5 separate regions of the Homo sapiens genome follow, and regions 2, 3, 4 and 5 are each linked to region 1. The links are contacts of gene promoters, found by promoter capture Hi-C in human tissues and cell types (Jung and others, 2019). All regions are on one chromosome and are shown on one strand. The core of a region is centred on a gene start or on the middle of the fragment in contact, and the rest is flanking DNA. Distances in the headings are between cores, read along the strand shown.

Region 1 (4,112 bases), core at 517-3,016:
GGAAGGGAGGTGGGAGGTTCACCTGAACCCAAGAGGTCTAGGCTGCAGTGAGCTGAGATCATGCCATTGTACTCCAGCCTAGGTGACAGTGAGACTCTGTCTCGAAAACATACACATAAAAAAAATAAAAATCATGAATTCATATTGATAAGTAATTTTGAAAAATTCACCTAATGAAAGTAGGGCTCCTAGAGGAGGCAAGATTTGGTTGTCTCCTGGTCAGCTTGGAGAGAGGAGTTTGTGGAAGTAAAAGGTGAGGAATGATAACCTACAGAAAACTGACTTCACAGCAACAGAAACAAAGAAAAGATGCAGGATGTCATAATTTATGTCTTGGTCCTGCCACATATGTGACCTTATGTAAATTATTTTTTTCTCTTTGAGTCTCAGATTTCCCCTTTGTAAAGGTGAAATCCCAGTTCCTCTTTTGCATCCCTCTGATGTTACTCTGAGCATCAAAGGAGTGATGACTACCATTTGTGGTACTATTATGAGGATATACACACATACTGATATAGATCCCTGTATGGATACACAAAAAACTGGTAACAGTAACTGCCTAAAGTATGTTGTTAGGAGTCAGTGAGAGACTTTTTGCTACATATAAAAGGATTTATATTGTTTGAATATTTTTCTTTTTCTTTAGAGACAGATTCTTGCTCTGTCACCAAGGCTGGAGTGCAGTGGCTAATGATGGGTCACTGCAGTCTCGAACTCCTGGCCTCAAGTATCTTCCCACCTCATCCTCCCATAGCTAGGACTACGGGCATGGGCTACTAAGCCTGGATAATTTTTTTTCTTTTTTGTAGGAACAGGGGTCTTGCTACGTTGCCAAGGCTGGTATGAATCTCCTGAACTCAAGCAATCCTCCTGCCTCTGCCTCCCAAAGTGCTGGGATTACAGGCGTCAGCCACCGTGCCTGGCCTGAATATCTTTCTTGAGGATGGAAAAAAAAAAAAAGTAAGTAAGTAGGTAATGAATTTGAAAGAGCTTTGTAAATCACAAAGTATGACACAAATATTAGGATTTTATTTTTACTATTATCCACCAGCAACAAGATATCAAACACTGGTTCTGTGATTATTTAATGGTGAAAAAGTTGAATAAATCAATTTAGTATACCCATATGTTGGAATATTGAGTCCATTTTTCTTTTAAAAATCACACTTTGGAATAATTGATGATACTGGCAAATGCTCAAGCTGAGTGGAAAAATATATAAACATTGTATAGGCGAATAATTCCAATCTTGTGCATTCCCTGTGTAAACCTACATACACAAAAAGAAAAAAGACTGAAAGGAACCATCCACAATGCTTTGATGGGAAAGACGGAGAAACAAAGTGTTAATTTTCTTAACTATAGTTTTGGTGTATTCCAGATTTTCTACAAGTTAATAAATGCCACTAAGAAAAGGGGAAACATCACAGCTACACCTTCAAACACCAGAAAAAGAATTTTTTTTTTTTTTTTTTTTTTTAGGTTGGGGTATGATTTTGATCTGGGCACTAACGGGGACACTGATTGCTTTTGCCAGTAAGTCAAGACCAGCAGATAAAAAATAATTTTTAAAAACCTCGTGAGACTGATTTGCCGCAGGACGGGAGGAGGAAGAAGCAAGCGTGGAAGGTGCTAACGGAGGAACCTAAACCTCCATCCTCTTTGCCTGGGAGGTTAAGAACTACAGGGAGAGGCGAGAGAGACTATGACTGCCCTACGGCTAGAGTAGCCGCGAAGAGAACACTTCCGGGGCGGGGCTATCTGGCCCTTTCCTTTCCGCGTGTAGAATGTGGGGCGCCTGTAAAGTTAAGGTTCACGATTCCTTGGCCACCATTTCCATCACTCTGAGACGGTACCTGAGATTGGGGGCGACCATGGCAAAAAGCAAGTTCGAGTACGTGAGGGACTTCGAGGCTGACGACACCTGCCTGGCACACTGCTGGGTGGTAGTGCGGCTGGACGGCCGGAATTTCCATCGGTGAGCGAGCTCGACTCGGGGCGTCGCGATGCGCCAGCGCTTCCGGGGAATCCAGCTTCTTCCCTTGCAAGTCCTCCCGCCCGCTCCAGTCACGGTTACCAGGGTAACGCGGTAGCCAATGAGTGCGCAGCATGGAGCATTGCCCCGCCCTGCGTGTTGGCTAGGACAGTGCCTGAACGCTGGCTGTTAGCGTAATTGAATGGGCGATGTGCTCCCGTGATGAGGATCTGGCTTGGAGTGCCCGTGTTAAGTGAACAGAGACTTGTTAGCAAGGACCTGTTGTTAAAAGTCACTCTCATGCACAATATTTAAGCTCTTAAGCCAATTGCCTAGCTATTCTGTTAGATATCTTTGAATGCTGACTGTTCAGAAGTCTGTGTAAGCCTTGCTTGTGGGCAATACTTAACGTCTGTGCTTCATTATCAGTAACAGGCCACATGGACTAGATTCAACAGAGAGTCAGAAAAAAAGAGAAGGCTGGGCGCGGGAGGCAGGAGGATCACTTAAGGCCAGGAGTTGGAGACCAAGTTTTTGTTTTTGTTTTGTTTTTTCTGTGGTTGTTGTTTGTGAAACTCCGCCACTACAAAAAAAAAAAAAAAAAAAAAAAAAAAAAGAGAGAGAGAGAGAGAAAGAAGGAAGAGAGAAAGAAAGAAAAAGAAAAAATTTAATTTGCCCGGCGCAGTGGTGCACACATGTAGTTCCAGCTACTGGGAAGGCTGAGGTGGAAGGATCGCTTGAGCCTGGGAGGTCAAGGCTGCAGTGAGCGGTGATTGGACACTGCACTCCAGCTTGGGTGACAGAGCAAGACCCTGTCTCAGAAAAAGAGGGAGGGGGAGAAAGAAATATAACAGAAAGATGGGAATTTAATCTTTGAAGAGGGCTGCATTGTTAATGATTATTATAACTAACATTTATTGAGCACTTACTAGGAGCTAGGTATGATTACTTTTATCTTCTCCCTAATCTTCAGGACAACCCAATGAGGTAAATATTCTTTTATTCCCATTTCACAGAAAGGAGAGTTGAGGCTTAGCATTTCTGTCTGGCTTTCTCAATTTCAGGGCAGGAAAAAAACTAAGTTCTTAAGAAAATGGATCAGGTTGTGGCTAGTTGAGCATTTGAGTTCACAGTGCTATTACATTATCTTCCTCCAAACAGCCTCTGTTATCTAGCAACAGAGCGTGTTGTTAATGACAGGCTTCCATCCATGCTTTCTTCCCTTTTTCCCCTGTGAAGGTTTGCTGAGAAGCACAACTTTGCAAAACCCAATGACAGCCGTGCTCTCCAGCTGATGACCAAATGTGCGCAGACTGTGATGGAAGAACTAGAGGATATTGTGATCGCGTATGGACAGAGTGATGAGTACAGCTTTGTGTTCAAGCGGAAAACCAATTGGTTTAAAAGAAGAGCCAGGTAATTCCATGACCTAACTCCTTTCTTCAGAATATTTCCTCCCAGCATCTGGTTTTCTGTTTATCTTAATCGCAGACTTACAGGCTACAGATGATGTCTGCAGTATTTGTAACTGCAGAGTACATGTATATTTCCTGTTTAGATTGTTGTACTTCCATCTGATAGCCGAGCATTCTGTGTGCCTCTTTTATCTGATTCTTTCCCCACATGCCCCATAAGATTGGTTTCTAGACTGACCTGGCATTGAACATTAAGATTAGAAACAGAGACTATAAGAATGTAATATTAACAATTCATAGGTTGGCTTTAGCCAGTGATAGTCTCTACGTGCATTGCATTACACTGTTCCTCAAGACAGATCTCATTATAAAATACACAAATCTGATATTTGATTTGGCAGTATTTTGAAACGCTGTATGGGAAACAAATCATATAATGAATTGGTTTTTTCTTTCTTTCTTTTTTTAATAGAGGTGGGGTCTCTCTGTGTTGCCCAGGCTGGTCTCAAACTCCTGGCCTCAAGCAGTTCTCCTGTCTTGGCCTCTCGAAGTGCTAGGATTACAGACATGAGCCACCACGCCCAGCCTGAATTGGCATTTTTTTTACAACAATGGTTTCTCTCCTTTCATGACTGTAAACACAAACAGATCAGGCGTGGTGGCTCACGCCTGTAATCCCAACACTTTGAGAGGGTAAGGGAGAGGATTACTTGAGCCCAGAG
Region 2 (4,112 bases), core at 415-2,914, 400 kb before region 1:
TGGGAAAGAAAAACTTACACAGAATAAGAGTAATCTTACGTTCCTGATTGCCTTGGGAACGATAGCATGGAGGGGGTCTCCTTGAGATTTCTAGAGATGGCCAACCCTCAGACACAGCTGCATGTCCTTAGGATCCTGCAGGCTGAGCAAGTAGGTGAGGGGTCCTAAGAAGCTAGGGAAAATTGCACAAGAGGGTTGGCTTCACAGGTGTGCAGTAGTATAAGGCCCAGAAGGGCTTTGCAGCTGGTTTACCATTCTGCTTCACTATCTTGAAATTCTTAAACAAGGGGGCCCCACATTTTCATTAAACATTGCACCCTGCAGATTATGTAACTGGTTCTGATGCACAAGCCTGGAATAGGCCTACTCCTTTCTCCCAGAAAACAGCAATTAAAACGACTCTCTGCTAATTCTCTCTCTTCAAGAATTAGAGTAAACTTGACTGGTTGTTCTTTCAGTGAATCAAAGGAAGATTTCAGTGCCTTCAAAAGCGAATGAACAGAAGGAGTGGGAAATGGAAAATCACCGTTAGAACATAATAAAAATTGTAGGCAAGATCTGTCAATGGTTGCTAAAATAAGTGGGCAGAACTTTGAGAAAAATACTGCATGATTTCTCTTATATGAGGTTCCTACAGTAGGCAAATTCATGGAGACATAGGGTAGGTTGCCAGGGAAGAGGAAGATGGTGTTTGATGGATACAGAGTTTCAGTTGGAGAAGGTGAGTTTCACTTCTAGAAAAGGATGGTGCTGATAGTTGCACAACCATGTGAATGTACGTAATGCCGCAGTACACCTACAAATGGTTAAAATGTTCAATTTTATGTACATCTTACCACAATAACAAAATTTTTTTAACCAAAAAATCTTTGAGAAGAAATAGGATACTTGCATAGTCTCAAAGTATCTCCCCCAAGATGTTTATTAATTACAAAGGGAAGAATGACTCTACAATGGAGAAAATTAGCAGACACCATCTTAACCAAGTATCAAAGTTAATATTACCAGTAAGACATATTATTGTTATCAACATATATTCTTGCCAAAATGCACAATCTCAATCTAATTATGAGAAAATATCAGATGAACCCAAATCGAGTTCCATTTAAAAAAAAAAAAGTGAATGATACTTTTCAAAAGTGCGCAGGTCTTGAGAGACAGGAAAGACTGAAAACTGTTACAAATTAGGAAAGAATAAGGGAACCTGACAACTAAATGCAACATGGAATCCTAGATTGAATCTTAGAACAGAAAAAGGACTTTAGTGGGAAAACTGGTGAAACCTGAATAAAGCCTGTCATTCAGCTAATAGTGTTGTACCAAAGTTAATTTCCTTCATTTGATGATTGCACTATGGTTCCGCCAGATGTTAACAGTGGGGAAGCTGGGTAAAGGATATGCAGGGTATGCTGTTTTTACAACTTTTCTGTAAGTCTAACATTATTTTTAAATAAAGTTGGTTTTTATTTTAAGTGGACAAAGTATAAAAATAAAGTGACAGTGAACTGGGACTCTAACATCATACCTAGGGTCCCAGTCCTCTCCCTGCTACTTACTAGCTGTGTGATCTTGTGCAAGTTACTCAGCTTCTCCAAGCCTGTTTCCTTATCTATAGAAATGGAGGGAATATCAGAATCCACCTCTTAGGGTTACTATAAGGATAAAATGAGATACTACCTGTTTTTTTGTTTGTTTGTTTTTGTTTTGTTTTCTTTTGAGACGGAGTCTTGCTCTGTTGCCTAGGCTGTAGTGCAGTGGCGTGATCTCAGCTCACTGCAACCTCTGCCTCCAGGGTTCAAGCAATTCTCCTGCCTCAGCCTCCTGAGTAGCTGGGACTACAGGCATGTGCCACCAGGCCCACCTAATTTTTGTATTTTTAGTAGAGATGGGGTTTCACTATGTTGGCCAGGCTGGTCTCAAGCTCCTGACCTCGTGATCTGCCTGCCTTGGCCTCCCAAGAGTCTTTTGTATACATAGTTAGCACTTAATAAATAATAGCTTATGGAAAAAAGATGAGAGAAAAATAAATTTGGGGCTGCAATGCAGTGATTTTGGGTGATTTCTTAGGGCTTGACCTACCCACCCACCTAAGTCCTGGGTCACTTACTCCAGGAGACTGTAGTACAGCACACATTTTTCTGAGAAATCATTTGGTCACCTCTATTTTGAGAAACAGAGTTATTCTTTATGCCAAATGGTTAGCAGTGATTAGCTCCAAGTGGCGGGATTTTTTTTTCTTTTTTGTTTATCTGTATCTTCTAGTTTTCCAATAATGAGCATATCTTATGGGAAAAAAAAGATTTGGGATATGTGTGTCTCCATGGCCTCTTCCCACCTGTCCAAAAGCACTAAATGTTCTTTTAGCTGGGAACAAAATCAAAACAAGCAGTGAAAGCCCTTGCTTATCAGGCGAGGGCAGTGGCTCCCCAGAGAACACCAGTTCCTGGGAAGCCCATGAAGAGACCTCAGGGAAGCGCTCTCCGATGGGTCTGGATGGCCCCTGCTCGCCCTGGCTGAGAAGCTTCTACCTCCTCCAAGAAACAAAATGAGGAATGAGCTCCCCTCAGCCTTTCCCTCCACCTGAAAAACTCCATTCTGAGATGGGGAGGCAACTTGATTCTGAGTTGGGAGAGGTTGCAAAGATTTGGGGAGTTAGTCACCCTCATTTTACACAGCTGAGCAAACAGAGTCTCAGCAAGACCCGATGCTGAAGTTGAGAACGGGCAGCCCGCAGGCTGTGTTTTGTTTAGGCAGCATAGTACATTTGTAATTTTGAGCCAATGTTTAACATTTGGAAGAAATCAAATAAAACTGCAGAAGCTCTGGCAATGCCAGACCAGCATTCCCAGATGGTAACGATTGCCCATAAATGACTAGAAGTTCCTGTGAGATGGGCTACACTTTCTTCAGCTTGCCACAGCCTCAGTGGCAGGCTTCATTTATGTGTGTGACCTACGAGGCCTCACTGTACTGAGTTTGAGACCTTTGCTCTCTCACTTGCCTGAGGCCACAGAGCTGGTTGACAGTTGAATGTGGTTAACAATCAGGTCTTCTTTCGTTGATGAGCTCTTTCTCCCACTACTCTGAAGTTGCCCACTGGGGTGTTTTACTGCCCCAGTTCTGTTTCTCTGTGTTGCCCTTTAGTAAACCAGCCTTGCTGTGGAAAAGTGTCATCCTCTTAGGAGACCCCTAAACTGCCCACATGGCTTTTTAAGCCTTTTCCATGCTTTGGTGCGTTGAGCCCTGCATCCAGCTGGCACATGCCCTCTTCTGGTTTCAAGGCCAGAAGAACAAATCCGAAATGTGTTGCAGAAATATCGTCTGGGTTACATACTGTGCAGGGAGAAGTGGACCTGTGGTTGCAGCAGCCTCTGCCTCTCCTTCAGTTTCCCTTGTGAACACGGATGTATGTTGTGAGACTGCTGAAGTCACAGAACGATAACACAGAAATTGTTCCCCAGCTTCTCAGTTGTCTTCCCAGTAACAAGGCACCACAGTGTGCCAGGGGACTCAGTGATCTTAGAAATAAACTCAGCGCCACTTACTCCATGTATTTTTTATTTATTTAGTACCCATCCTAAGTGAATCAGAATAAAGACATATTCCAGCTAGCCAGGCCCCCAAGAGACAGAATCAGAAAGCTGATTCTGTATTTCCGCCCTTCATTTACTTCATGGTACACAATGACTGGAAACTTATTCCTCCGATGCTGTTCCAGAATTGAAATTCTGACCTTCTTTTGAAAAATTGCAGGATTTGCCATCACTAATCCCCCACTCCAACATGGCAGCGGTCAGACGGGGTATCAGAAGTAGCAGCTCCACCTTTACCTGGGCAGGGACATCCAATTTGCCATAGATGGACCCACTCCCCAAACTTTCTCTTCACCCCAGTTGATCTCACTTACCTGACCTGTCTGGTCTCTTTAGCCATGTGTGTTTGCAAGCCTTCAACCATTTCTGCACACTTCAACTTAGAGCCACAGAATCTGAGTTTCAGAGAGGCAGAGCTCCAAAAATTGGAAGCATAGCCTGGGATCTCCACCTGACCATGCTCTGGTCTCCATCTAGGGGTCTTTGTGGCTAATGAGAATGAAATTGAATCCTTGGCAT
Region 3 (4,112 bases), core at 753-3,252, 310 kb before region 1:
TTATGGCTGAGTAGTATTCCATCTCATATATGTGTGTGTATATATATATAAAACATATATTATTCATATATATAAACTGATATATATACATATATGTATATATGTGGTTGATATATAGATATGTGATATATATCATATATATGTATATATATGTATCACATATATGATATATAGATATAGATGTATGATACATATATATGTATACATATGATATATATGTATACATATATGATATATATACACATGTTATTTATACACATATATGTGATATATACATATATATACATGTGATATATACATATACACACATGTATATACATATGTGATATATATATAAATCACAGTTTCTGTATCCACTCATTGATTGGTGGCCATTTACTAAAATCTCATAGATCACCACCAAAGAACTTACTCATGTAACCAAACACTACCCAATAACCTATGGAAATAAAAAATTTTAAAAAATAAACTCGAGGGGCAGTTCCAAGATGGCTGAATAGGAACAGCTCTAGTCTACAGCTCCCGGCATGAGTAATGCAGAAGACAGGTGATTTCTGCATTTCCAACTGAGGTACTGGGTTCATCTCACTGGGGATCCTTGGACAGTGGGGGCAGGACAGTGGGTGCAGCCCACCTAGCATAAGCCAAAGCAGGGTGAGGCATTGCCTCACCTGGGAAGCCCAAGGGGTCAGGGAATTCCCTTTCCTAGCCAAGGGAAGGGTTGACATATGGCACCTGGAAAATCAGGTCACTCCTACCCTAATACTGCACTTTTCCAACTGTCTTAGCAAACGGCACCACCAGGAGATTATAGCCCAAACATGGCTCAGAGGGTCCCATGCCCAAGGAGCCTCGCTCATTTTTAGCACAGCAGGCTGAGATCAAACTGCAAGGTGGCAGCGAGGCTGGGGGAGGGGCGCCCGCCATTGCTGAGGCTTGAGTAGGTAAACAAAGCGGCCAGGAAGATGGAACTGGGTGGAGACCACCTCAGCTCAAGGCGGCCTGCCTGCCTCTGTAGACTCCACATCTGGAGGCAAGGCATAGCCAAACAAAAAGCAGCAGAAACCTCTGCAGACTTAAATGTCCCTGTCTGACAGCTTTGAAGAGAGTAGTGGTTCTCCCAGCATGGAGTTTGAGATCTGAGAACAGACAGACTGCCTCCTCAAGTGGGTCCCTGACCCCCGAGTAGCCTAAATGGGAGACACCCAGACTGACACCTCACACGGCCTGGTACCCCTCTGAAATGAAGCTTCCAGAGGAAAGAACAGGCAGCAACATTTGCTGTTCAGCAATATTCACTGTTCTGCAGCCTCCGCTGCTGATACCCAGGCAAACAGGGTCTGGAGTGGACCTCCAGCAAACTCCAACTGACCTGCAGCTGAGGGTCCCGACTGTTAGAAGGAAAACTAACATACAGAATGGACATCCACACCAAAACCCCATCTGTACATCACCATCATCAAAGACCAAAGGTAGATAAAACCACAAAGATGGGGAAAAAACAGAGCAGAAAAGCTGAAAATTCTAAAAATCAGAGCGACTCTCCCCCTCCAAAGGAATGCAGCTCTTTGCCAGCAATGGAACAAAGCTGGACAGATAATGAATTTGACAAGTTGAGAGAAGAAGGCTTCAGACGATCAAACTTCTCCGCGCAAAAGGAAGAAGTTCGAACCCATCACAAAGAAGCTAAAAACCTTGAAAAAAGAGTAGACAAATGGCTAACTAGAATAACCAGTGTAGAAAATTCCTTAAATGACCTGATTGAGCTGAAAACCATGGCACGAGAACTACATGACAAATGCACAAGCTTCAGTAGCCGATTCGATCAACTGGAAGAAAGGGTATCAGTGATTGAAGATCAAATGAATGAAATGAAGTGAGAAGAGAAGTTTAAAGAAAAAAGAGTAGTGCTCTCCCTCTCCCCACGGTCTCCCTCTCCCTCTCTTTCCACGGTCTCCCTCTGATGCCAAGCCAAAGCTGGACTGTACTGCTGCCATCTCGGCTCACTGCAACCTCCCTGCCTGATTCTCCTGCCTCAGCCTGCTGAGTGCCCGGGATTGCAGGCGGGCGCCGCCACGCCTGACTGGTTTTCGTATTTTTTTGGTGGAGACGGGGTTTCGCTGTGTTGGCCAGGCTGGTCTCCAGCTCCTAACTGCGAGTGATCCGCCAGCCTCGGCCTCCCGAGGTGCCAGGATTGCAGACGGAGTCTCGTTCACTCAGTGCTCAATGGTGCCCAGGCTGGAGTGCAGTGGCCTGATCTCGGCTGGCTACAACCTCCACCTCCCAGCCGCCTGCCTTGGCCTCCCAGAGTGCCGAGATTGCAGCCTCTGCCCGGCCGCCACCCCGTCTGGGAAGTGAGGGGCGTCTCTGCCAGGCCGCCCATCGTCTGGGATATGAGGAGCCCCTCTGCCTGGCTGCCCAGTCTGGAAAGTGAGGAGCATCTCTGCCCGGCCGCCATCCCATCTAGGAAGTGAGGAGCGCCTCTTCCCAGCCGCCATCCCATCTAGGAAGTGAGGAGCGTCTCTGCCCGGCTACCCATCGTCTGGGATGTGAGGAGCACCTCTGCCCCGCCGCCCCATCTTGGATGTGAGGAGCGCCTCTGCCCGGCCGCGACCCCATCTGGGAGGTGAGGGGCGTCTCTGCCCGGCCGCCCAGTCTGAGAAATGAGGAGCCCCTCCGCCTGGCAGCCACCCCGTCTGAGAGGTGGGGAGCCTCTCCGCCCGGCAGCCGCCCTGTCTGGGAGGTGAGGAGCGTCTCCGCCCGGCGGCCACCCCATCCGGGAGGGAGGTGGGGTTCAGCCCCCCGCCCGGCAAGCCGCCCCGTCTGGGAGGGAGGTGGGGGGTCAGCCCCCCACCCGGCCAGCCTCCCCGTCCGGGAGGGAGGTGGGGTTCAGCCCCCCGCCCGGCAAGCCGCCCCGTCTGGGAGGGAGGTGGGGGGTCAGCCCCCCACCCGGCCAGCCGCCCCATCCGGGAGGGAGGTGGGGGGTCAGCCCCCCGCCCGGCCAGCCGCCCCGTCTGGGAGGTGGGGGGCGCCTCTGCCCGGCCGCCCCTACTGGGAAGTGAGGAGCCCCTCTGCCCGGCCACCACCCCGTCTGGGAGGTGTACCCAACAGCTCACTGAGAATGGGCCATGATGACAATGGCGGTTTTGTGGAATAGAAAAGGGGGAAAGGTGGGGAAAAGATTGAGAAATCGGATAGTTGCTGTGTCTGTGTAGAAAGAAGTAGACATGGGAGACTTTTCATTTTGTTCTGTACTAAGAAAAATTCTTCTGCCTTGGGATCCTGTTGATCTATGACCTTACTTACCCCCAACCCTGTGCTCTCTGAAATATGTGCTGTGTCCACTCAGGGTTAAATGGATTAAGGGCGGTGCAAGATGTGCTTTGTTAAACAGATGCTTGAAGGCAGCATGCTCGTTAAGAGTCATCACCACTCCCTAATCTCAAGTACCCAGGGACACAAACACTGCGGAAGGCCACAGGGTCCTCTGCCTAGGAAAACCAGAGACCTTTGTTCACTTGCTTATCTGCTGACCTTCCCTCCACTATTGTCCTATGACCCTGCCAAATCCCCCTCTGCGAGAAACACCCAAGAATGATCAATTTAAAAAAAAAAAAAAAAAAAAGAGGATCAACAAATGGTGGGACTGTAACCTACAAGAGAAATGAGACTCTTTGAGTACCAGAGTGCAGTCTGTATTAAGCTTTTAAAATGTGTCCCACATAAAGATGGGAACAACAGACCCTGAGGACTACAAGAGTGGGAAGGGCAGGAGGGGGGGAGGGTTGAAAAACAACCTATTCAGGACTCTGCTTACTACCAGGGTGACAGATTCAATTGCACCCCAACCTCAGCACCCCAACCTCATACCCCAATATACCCACGTAACAAACCTATATGTGTACCCCCGAATCTAAAAGTTGAAATTTAAATAAAATCTGACCGAAAAAAAAATAATAATAAATAAATAAACAAATTTAAAAGCAAAAAAGAAAAAAAAAGAAAAAAGAGTAAAAAGAAACAAAGCCTCCAAGAAATATGGGACTACGTGAAAAGACCAAATCTATGTCTGATTGGTGTACCTGAAAGTGATGGGGAGAATGGAACCAAGT
Region 4 (4,112 bases), core at 572-3,071, 290 kb before region 1:
TGCATTCAGCACCCCTGAAGAGAATAAAGCCCACGGTGGGAAAGGGATAAAGACATATTTCCCCTCTACGCAAGCAGAAAAGTAAGCAGCCCCCAAGCCAGTTCACTTCCCATATGGTTTGATTTACTCTGATTTTCTCCGCCTGGGCTCCATTCTGGGCTGAGTCCGGTGGGATCACAGATACATCACTGTCTGGCTAGCCCACAGCTTCCGGCAGAACAGGGATAGGGGAGGGTTTTCCTGGGAAAATACGCTGTGAGATGCTATCCAAGTGAAAAATATGCAGCCCCCAAACTCCACCTTCATTAGCCAGAATAAAACCCAGGGATTTCTGCCTACTGGAGTTTCAGACTGACAGGAAAAGAGGAAATTAAAGAGTCCCTGGTTGGAACTTTTCTAATAGGCTTTCTGGCAAACAGCCAAACCCAGGAATGAGCTGGAGAAAGCAAACTGGGTTAAACTGTAATGGGGATGGGGCTGACCCTAGGCAGGGCAGCCTGGGTTCAGCCCGTCTACTAGCTACCACATAGTCTCATGTCATGTCACTCCGCCCATCCCTGAGGTGAAAATATCATCCCCATTTCATACACAAGGACTCAAAATTAGAACACAATAGAGGTTAAGCAACCACACCGCCTGCTCCCCTCCTCCTAACATCTCTCCCCTTCCCTCTCCCCACCTCCCCCTCCTCACATACCAAGGCCTTCCATCATCTTTATAATGCCTTTTCCTCCTGGAAGCCTGGGTTCCAGTTTATCTGTGAAATATTCTCTAAGCATCTGTCTTTGACCTTCTTACCTCTTATCAAAATTATAATTCAATGTTAATTGTGTGATCATTTAATGAATACAGTCTAGTAGTATAGGGACTGCCTGTCTTGCTCACCATAATAGTGCCAGTGCCATTCACAGCAGGTGACACGTAAGTGCTCCATTTATGTCATCTAAATGAATCCATTTCTGTCTCCTTCCCCTAAAATACAAACAACAAAAAAAACCCTGCCTTAAAACAGCAGCTGGCATAAAAGAAGTGAGTAAAGGGCTAATCGGCACTGACTGTAATTATTATGGATATACTATATTGGGCTGCAGAAAACAGGACTATGGAGGTAGGGCTGAGGCAGGAGGGACACAGAAAGGGACAGAGTCAGGGCTGAGCATGAGGTTTGGTGGTGTTAATTTTCTCTTTTGGAACCCTCCTCAACCAAGAATGCAGGCAGAAGAGAGTAACTGGTTAAGAGCTGGGTTGTTGAAAACCCAGCTCTGCCAGGAACTAGCAAGTTCTTAATCTTTGAGCATCTTTTTCCTTATCTTCAAAATAATAGTAACAGTGATAATACCTGCTTCTTGGGTTGTTACAAGTCATGAATGGTAATATGTATGAATTGCCTTGGCACGGTGCCCGGCACACTGTCAGTGATCAATAACTGGTGCTGATAGAGAGAAAAGGGTTCAGTCAGCTCATTGCACTTGTTTTTACCCTCTGCAGCCAGGTGTCAGTGCCCCGTTTCCTGTTTCCTCCTCTCCAACTCGGGTTTCCATTCAGGATTCCCCAGGGAAGGTGGAAGTATATCTTGGAAGATCTTCATCACCCCTAATCCCCATTCAGTCCAAAGCTATTTCCAACAGATTCAGGAATCAAAAAGCCTAGATGAGGAAGCAACAACCAGTTGGAGGGGACTATGGCAGAGCCCAGGAAGCCCAGAAGTGGGAAAGGGTCGTACCTGAGACCAGTGGGGAGAAGATCAATTTCTCCATCTCAGCCCCTCCTTGGCAAACTCTTTAGCTCTTAAGAACCCAGAGTTCATTCTCAGGACCTGAAGCCTGAGGCCAGGAGTCTCTGGATAGGTCTTCTATGTGTGCATCTCCCTCCCCAGAAGAGGGGAAGATGAGCCCGTGGGAGGCCTTTATTGCCTGGGGTTGACTGGTTACTAAAACTGGACTCACCTGTGACATGAGAGCTCGCCCAAACCTCAGCCCAGACCCGGATGCTTCTGTCCTTCCTCCTCCCTTGCAGAGGAGGATGTATAGGCAAAAATAAAAATAAAAAATAAAAATACACAGCACTGGGAGTCATGAAACTCACATCTCGTTCCAGTTTTTCTACTTTTTCTCCGTCTTTAAAATGGGCATAGTACCCCAGATGATCTCTAAGGACTCTTCCTGCCCTGGCAGTTTGAGATCTTCTGCACTGGAACCATGGATGGGAACCACAGCCTGCCTTGGGGGAGATGGCAAGGGAAAGGGAACCCAAAGCCCTAAAAGGAAATTTCTAACCTTAGGGGATCCGTGAGCACGCGCAAATTACAGGCACATATATATGTATTTTGCTTTACTTCTTCAGAAAACAGTGAGTAGTAGACAGCCTCAGATTCTCAAACTTCTGCTCTAAACTGGCAACATTTAAAGAGTCTATTTGGGAACTTTGGGGAACCCAGTACTCTCCTATTGGTGAAAATGAGAGAGGATGCAGCCCTGTTTCCTGACGCTGATGTAACGAATTACCACCAAATTAACAGCAACACAAACGTATTATCTTACAATTATGGACACCAAAAGACATAAGTCTCTTAACTTAGTCACCAGACGAGAATCAATGTGTCGGCAAAGCTGGTTCTTTCTGGAGCACCAGGGAACAATTCGCTTCTCACTGTTTCTTGCTTCTAGAGGCTGTTGGCTCTTGACTGCATCACTTCCATCCCCGCTTCCGTCCTCACATGACCTTCCCTGCTGACTCCGACCCATCTGCCTTCCACTTATAAGGACCCTTGTGATTACATTGGGTCCACCTGGAAAACCCAGGGCCCTCTCCCTGTCTCAGGATTTTTAACTTAATCACGTCTACAGAATCTCTTTTACAACGTAAGGTAACAAATTTGCAGGTTTAAGGGTCAAGACATGGGTGGGGAATGTGAATATTCAGCCTACCAGAAGCGCTTTGAATAGTCATATCCTTTAACCCAGCAATTCCACTTGCAGAGTTTATCCTACAGGCTAAACTGTATAAAGAGGTAATGTCCACACAGCAGAGTTTATAATATTTAAACCTGGAAACAACCTGTTCTACTGATAATCAGTAGAAACGTAATTAAATAAGCTAGCAATATTTGTACATTAGCATATTCTAAAAAGATGCAGTATTCTAAAAATAAGTATATTCATATGTACTAATATGAAAAAGTCTCTAAGTCAGTTGCTAGGATAAAAGCAACCTGAAATAAAAGCTGTATAATGTGACTCCGTGTTGTGGTATGCATATATAATTTCTGGATGTATATCACAGAATCTGTTAATGGTGGTGACTACCTCTTGTGTGTAGGATAGCCAGGGTACTTTTATGCTTCATTTTACACCCTTCTGAACTGCAGTTTATTTTTTAACCAATTATAACATACAATTTTAAAATTTTATGATTTGGCTGGGTGCAGTGGCTCACGCCGGTAATCCCAGCACTTTGGGAGACTGAGGTGGGCATATTACTTGAGGCTAGGAGTTTGAGAACAGCCTGGCCAACATGACAAAACGCGTCTCTACTAAAAATGCAAAAATTATCTGGGCATGGTGGCACACGCCTATAAACCCAGCTCCTAGGGAGGCTGAAGCAGGAGAATCACTTGAAGCCAGGAGGCAGAGGTTGCGGTGAACCAAGATTGCGCCACTGCACTCCAGCCTGGGCCACAGAGGGAAACTGTGTCTCAAAAAAAAAAAAAAAAAAAAGTCTTGCCAAATTTCTTTTGGTCATTCTGAGGGCTGGAAATGTTCCATATCTTATCTGAATGGTAGTTACGAGGGTGTATGCATATATGAAAACCCACTGATCTCCACACTTAACATTTCTGCACTATTCTCTGTGAAGTTCTGGTTCAATAAAAAATGCGCATTCAAAAATATAGGATGTTCTCCCCCCTTTGGCCAAAAACCAAGGGTTATTGACCTGTATCCTTCTGAAATTCAGTGCAAAAGTGATGTGTGCCTCTTTCTGGGCAAGTGTTGACCCTTTTTGTCAGATTCTTAAAGGGATTTGGAGCTCCTAAAAAGTTAAAAATTACCAGTGAGGGCCTTCCCTAAAATAAAGACCACTTACTTCTGGTTTTGTTGGGGTTTGACTAAAGG
Region 5 (4,112 bases), core at 209-2,708, 270 kb before region 1:
AGCTGAGCTCTCACAAGGTCCGGGGCTGTAGTCTAAGAGGATGGCCTCAGCAAGGTACAAAAGGCTCATTGTCAACCCTATCTGGAATCCCACCTGCCAACAGGGTTAGGGTTTAGGGTTATAAAGGAAGGCCTCCAATAGGAGGTCTCAGTTTAGAGAGCAAACAGGATGCCTTCCTTTAGAATCCAATCTTTCCTGAGACCTTCATGATGTGTTTATTAGAGGAGGGAAGGGACAAGTCTCAGGACCAAGAATCAGATATGCATGTCTGGTCTTGGTCTTACTTCCCACCAACGTCATCACAGGCAAGTCACAGCTTCTCTGCAAAATGGGAATAGATACTTCTGCTCAGAACAATGTCAGACGCTGGTGTGCCCTCACTTAGCATCCAATTGAGCTCCCTTCTGGGCTGCCAAAAAATGGTGAACTGTCTGACCCCAAGGGATTTGCTTGTTTGGAAAATAAGATGTTTTTCCGTGAAACAGTGCTTGAGAAAAGGAATCCTGTGCAAAATGACTCATTCATTTAATCACCATTTATCACATGCCTGCTGTATGCCAGGGACAATGCTAGACATGGGGATTCAGTGTCCTCGTGGAACCTTCAGTCAAGTGGAAGAGACAGATGAGTCAATAGGCAGTTGTTTTATCATGTGTTAAGTGCCATCATGGGGAAAACACAGCCTGCTATGGGGGAATATTTTGGAGGGGTGTGTAAAGCCCAGACTTGGGGGATTAGGGGAGGTTTCTCTAGAAGAGATGATCTCTAAACTGAGACCTAGATTATGAGGAGACAGCAAGGTAAAAGGGGAAATAGGGAGACAGTGTTCCAGGCAGAAGGAATAACACGTGCAAAGGCTCAGAGGTGAGAGAACTTGAGTGATACTAGAAATCGAAAGTCATTCAGAATGGCAGGAGCAGGAGGGGTGCATGGTGAGTGAAGGGCCAGCTCATGAAGGGTCTTGTAAATGGAAGTACAGAGGCTGAGTGCAATTGTTAAGTGACTGAAAGGTTTTAGGAAGGCGAGTGACACAGTCTAATTTGCAATTTGAAAAGATCCCTGGTTGCTGGGTGAAGAACGGATTAGGGGACAAGCCTGGAGCCTGGGAAACCAAGTAGGTGAGTGAAAGGACAGAACTTGAGCCCGGGAGACGGAAATGGGAATGGAGACAACTGGTGGATTCCAAAGCTAGTTTTTGAAGGTAGAATTTACCAGCTTTGATACAGACCGGCTTCAAGCAAGGGAGGAGGGGCGGGGGAAGGAGTCAAGGATGACTCATGCTTTTGACTTGAGCAACTGGGGTGATGAAAGTGCTATTTCTTGAGATGAAGAGTGTAGAAGGAGGGACAGGTTTATGGGAAGATGATGCATTCAAGTTTGGACACGTTCAATTTAATGTTTTTGTGGGATATTGCACTTAGGAAGCAGACTATTAGGGTTCTAATTCTGGCTCCTCAATTCCTGGTGATTCAATTCTGGGCAAGAAAAGTATCTATTTCTATGCCTCAGTCTTCTCATCTATAAAATGGAGATAAGAATAGTACCAGCCTAAAGGGTTATAAGAAAATGCAACATAGTTAGAATCATACCTAGCACAGAGTAGCACTAGTATTGGTATTACTGTTATCTCAGTGAAAGGTTCCCACAGTTAGAGGTACTAGTGCACAGACTAGCACTAGTATTGGTATTACTGTTATCTCAGTGGGAGGTTCCCACAGTTAGAGGTACAGGTCTAGAGCCCATGTGTGCTGCAAAATGAATAGCTGTGAGGTGCAGAGATGAAGTCAGGAACAATGGTCATTGCCATTCCACCCTTCACTTCTAGACAAGTGTTGGAAAGGCCAGAGACCTTCCAGAGTGCCAGGGAAATTTCTGCTTGTGTTCAGAGAAGGTATCATTGACCATTCAGAAAGACAACTTCCCTGGAATCCATTTTTTTCTCCAATCTACTATTTCAGTATCTTCTGTGATTTCAACCCTTAGAGTAAAATGTTCTCAGAGTTCTTAACATTTATGGGAAATTCTGACCTTTTTAGGAACCTAATGAAAATAGGACACCTCTTCCTTAGAAAAGTGGGCATTCCCAAAAGCAACATAAATTTTTGGATTTTTATGAAACTGTCTCAAACCCATCTATCATCATCCATTATTATCATCATCGTTGTTGCTAATGTTACTGAGTATTGACTACGTGCCAGGTCCTGAACAAAGCAGACACAATTCCTGGCTTTGTGGAGCTTCCATTTTACTGGGGGAAATGTCATAAAATAAGAAGATCAACTAAAATTAAGAACAACAATGCCATGAAAGAGAAGAGCTGGGTGTTATGAGAGAACCCCAGCTGGGCACAGTCACTCACACCTGTAATCCCAGCACTTTGGGAGGCTGAGGTGTCAGGATCACTTGAGTCCGGGAGTTTGAGACCAGCCTGGGAAACATAGCAAGACCCCCATCTGTACAGAAAATTTTTTTCAATTAGCCAGGCATGGTGGCATATGACTAGTCCCAGCTACTCAGGAGGCTGAGGTGGGAGGATCCCTTGAGCCCAGGAGTTTGAGGCTTCATTGAGCTATGATCATGCCACTGCACATTCCAGCCTGGGTGACCGAGGGAGACCCTGCAGTGGAGGAGGGAGGGAAGGAAAAAGGTAAGGAAGAAAGGAGGGAGGAGGGAGGGAAGGAAGAGAGAGAGAAAGGAAGGAAGGAAAGGATGGTGGGAGGGAGGGAGAGAAGGAACTCCAACAGGAAATAATAGAAATCAGGGAGTCAGGGATGGCATCGTAGGGGAAGCAACATTCACACAGCAACCTGTAGAGTGAGTGTAAGTTTAGGCAAATAATAGAGTATTCTGGACACAGGGAAAGCATGTGCAAAGGCCTCGAGGCAGAAAAGAGCTCATCGTTTTTGGAGAGCTAAGAGAGAGGAGAAGAGTGGCAGGAGATGCACTTGGACAGGTGAGCAGGGCCAAAAGTATGCATGCTCTTGTTAAGGATTCTGGTCTTTATCCTGAGAGCACTCAGAAGCCATTGCCAGCCATAAGTTGCGGAGTGACATAATCTGATTTGCATTCTTAAAAGACGACTGGCTGCCATGAAAAGAAAAATAGGTTATTAAAGGGCCAAGAGTGGAACCAGAGTAACTATGAAGGAGGCTGTTGCCTCAACCTGAAGCAGGGATAACAGTGCCTTCGTGTAGCAGGTGGCAGCGGAGTGGACACATGCGAGATCTTTTTGGAGACAGAGTTATCAGGATGGACTGGATGCAGAAGGAGGGAGAGAAGAGTCAAAGAGCAATTCCCTGGTTTCTGGCTTAAGCAACTGGATAAATGAGAGTGCCACTTACTATGTTTCATTTGGCAGGTGGGTGGGGAACATTTAAAACCAAGAGCTCCATTTAGGACAGAAATTGAGATGCCTGTGAGGAATCCAAGAGGAGATGTGAAGTAAGCAGTTGGATATACACCTGGACTCAGAAGGAAGGTCCAGGCTACAGATATAGAGGCATCAGATATAGATGGTATTTAAAACTTTAGGAACAAATGAACCCACCCAGGAGAAGGCCCAGAACCAAGCCTCAAGGAGCAGCCCTTAGAGGCCGGGGAGTGAGCAGAGAGTTAGGAAAGGTACCTGAGAAAGTGTGGCCAAGTTCCATCCTAACTTTGTGTCCATTCCCTCCACAGTGGATGGAGGCTTCGGCTACCTGAAAGATGCAATGTGGTGGGCTGGATTTCTCACCAGTAAGTGGGTTGTTTGTTACTAATAACAGTGGCCTATTGATAGCAGGGCTGGAGACAAAGGGAGGGGTGGGTAGGGCATTTTTGTCTCTAGTATGGCAAGTGTGAATCTGAGGCCCAGATTCCCAGGGGAAAACCTTGACAACCTTTACAGGGAGAACATCTTACCATCAAAGTCAGTCTTCATCCATGAAGCGTCTACTCCCAGAGAGGTTTGCACAGAGCTGGCAACCATGAAGGTGTATTTTCTCAACTTGCCTTTAAACATAGCTCGATAATATCACTGCCTGTTGGTAGTGGACTCTTGACTTCTACATGGTAGAAGCTGGAACTCCTAGGCCAACTTCCCCCAGTCCGCAGGCAGTTAATGTGTTGGCCCA

Evidence for each region. The method cuts DNA at HindIII sites, captures the fragments that hold promoters and counts their contacts. A contact is called where the count stands out against the background at its distance.
Region 2: a contact is called between a fragment that was not itself captured here and the fragment with the promoter of THG1L in region 1, in 3 of the 25 tissues and cell types used here (dorsolateral prefrontal cortex, hippocampus and spleen).
Region 3: a contact is called between a fragment that was not itself captured here and the fragment with the promoter of THG1L in region 1, in 1 of the 25 tissues and cell types used here (spleen).
Region 4: a contact is called between a fragment that was not itself captured here and the fragment with the promoter of THG1L in region 1, in 1 of the 25 tissues and cell types used here (H1 embryonic stem cells).
Region 5: a fragment that was not itself captured here is called in contact with the fragment with the promoter of THG1L in region 1 in 1 of the 25 tissues and cell types used here (H1 embryonic stem cells).

Annotation. Positions count from the first base shown.
Region 1 is chr5:157,729,654-157,733,765 of GRCh38, forward strand. It overlaps THG1L (tRNA-histidine guanylyltransferase 1 like), which reads left to right and starts at 1,767. Exons shown (of 6, transcript NM_017872.5): 1 at 1,767-1,978; 2 at 3,215-3,391. The coding sequence starts at 1,788. RefSeq lists enhancers at 138-257, 288-367, 1,684-2,043. The HindIII fragment of the contact is 18,862 bases long and covers 1-4,112 here.
Region 2 is chr5:157,333,580-157,337,691 of GRCh38, forward strand. All of the region lies in intron 21 of CYFIP2 (cytoplasmic FMR1 interacting protein 2), which reads left to right. Among named protein-coding and RNA genes, the nearest start is that of FNDC9, 10 kb to the right of the region's middle. The HindIII fragment of the contact is 4,356 bases long and covers 1-3,842 here.
Region 3 is chr5:157,417,029-157,421,140 of GRCh38, forward strand. The region is part of intron 1 of NIPAL4-DT (NIPAL4 divergent transcript); the gene reads right to left. Among named protein-coding and RNA genes, the nearest start is that of NIPAL4-DT, 41 kb to the right of the region's middle. The HindIII fragment of the contact is 4,149 bases long and covers 1-4,077 here.
Region 4 is chr5:157,442,986-157,447,097 of GRCh38, forward strand. The region is part of intron 1 of NIPAL4-DT (NIPAL4 divergent transcript); the gene reads right to left. Among named protein-coding and RNA genes, the nearest start is that of NIPAL4-DT, 15 kb to the right of the region's middle. The HindIII fragment of the contact is 5,093 bases long and covers 1-4,112 here.
Region 5 is chr5:157,463,371-157,467,482 of GRCh38, forward strand. NIPAL4 (NIPA like domain containing 4) reads left to right here. Exons shown (of 6, transcript NM_001099287.2): 3 at 3,679-3,735. Among named protein-coding and RNA genes, the nearest start is that of NIPAL4, 5.2 kb to the left of the region's middle. The HindIII fragment of the contact is 5,906 bases long and covers 1-4,112 here.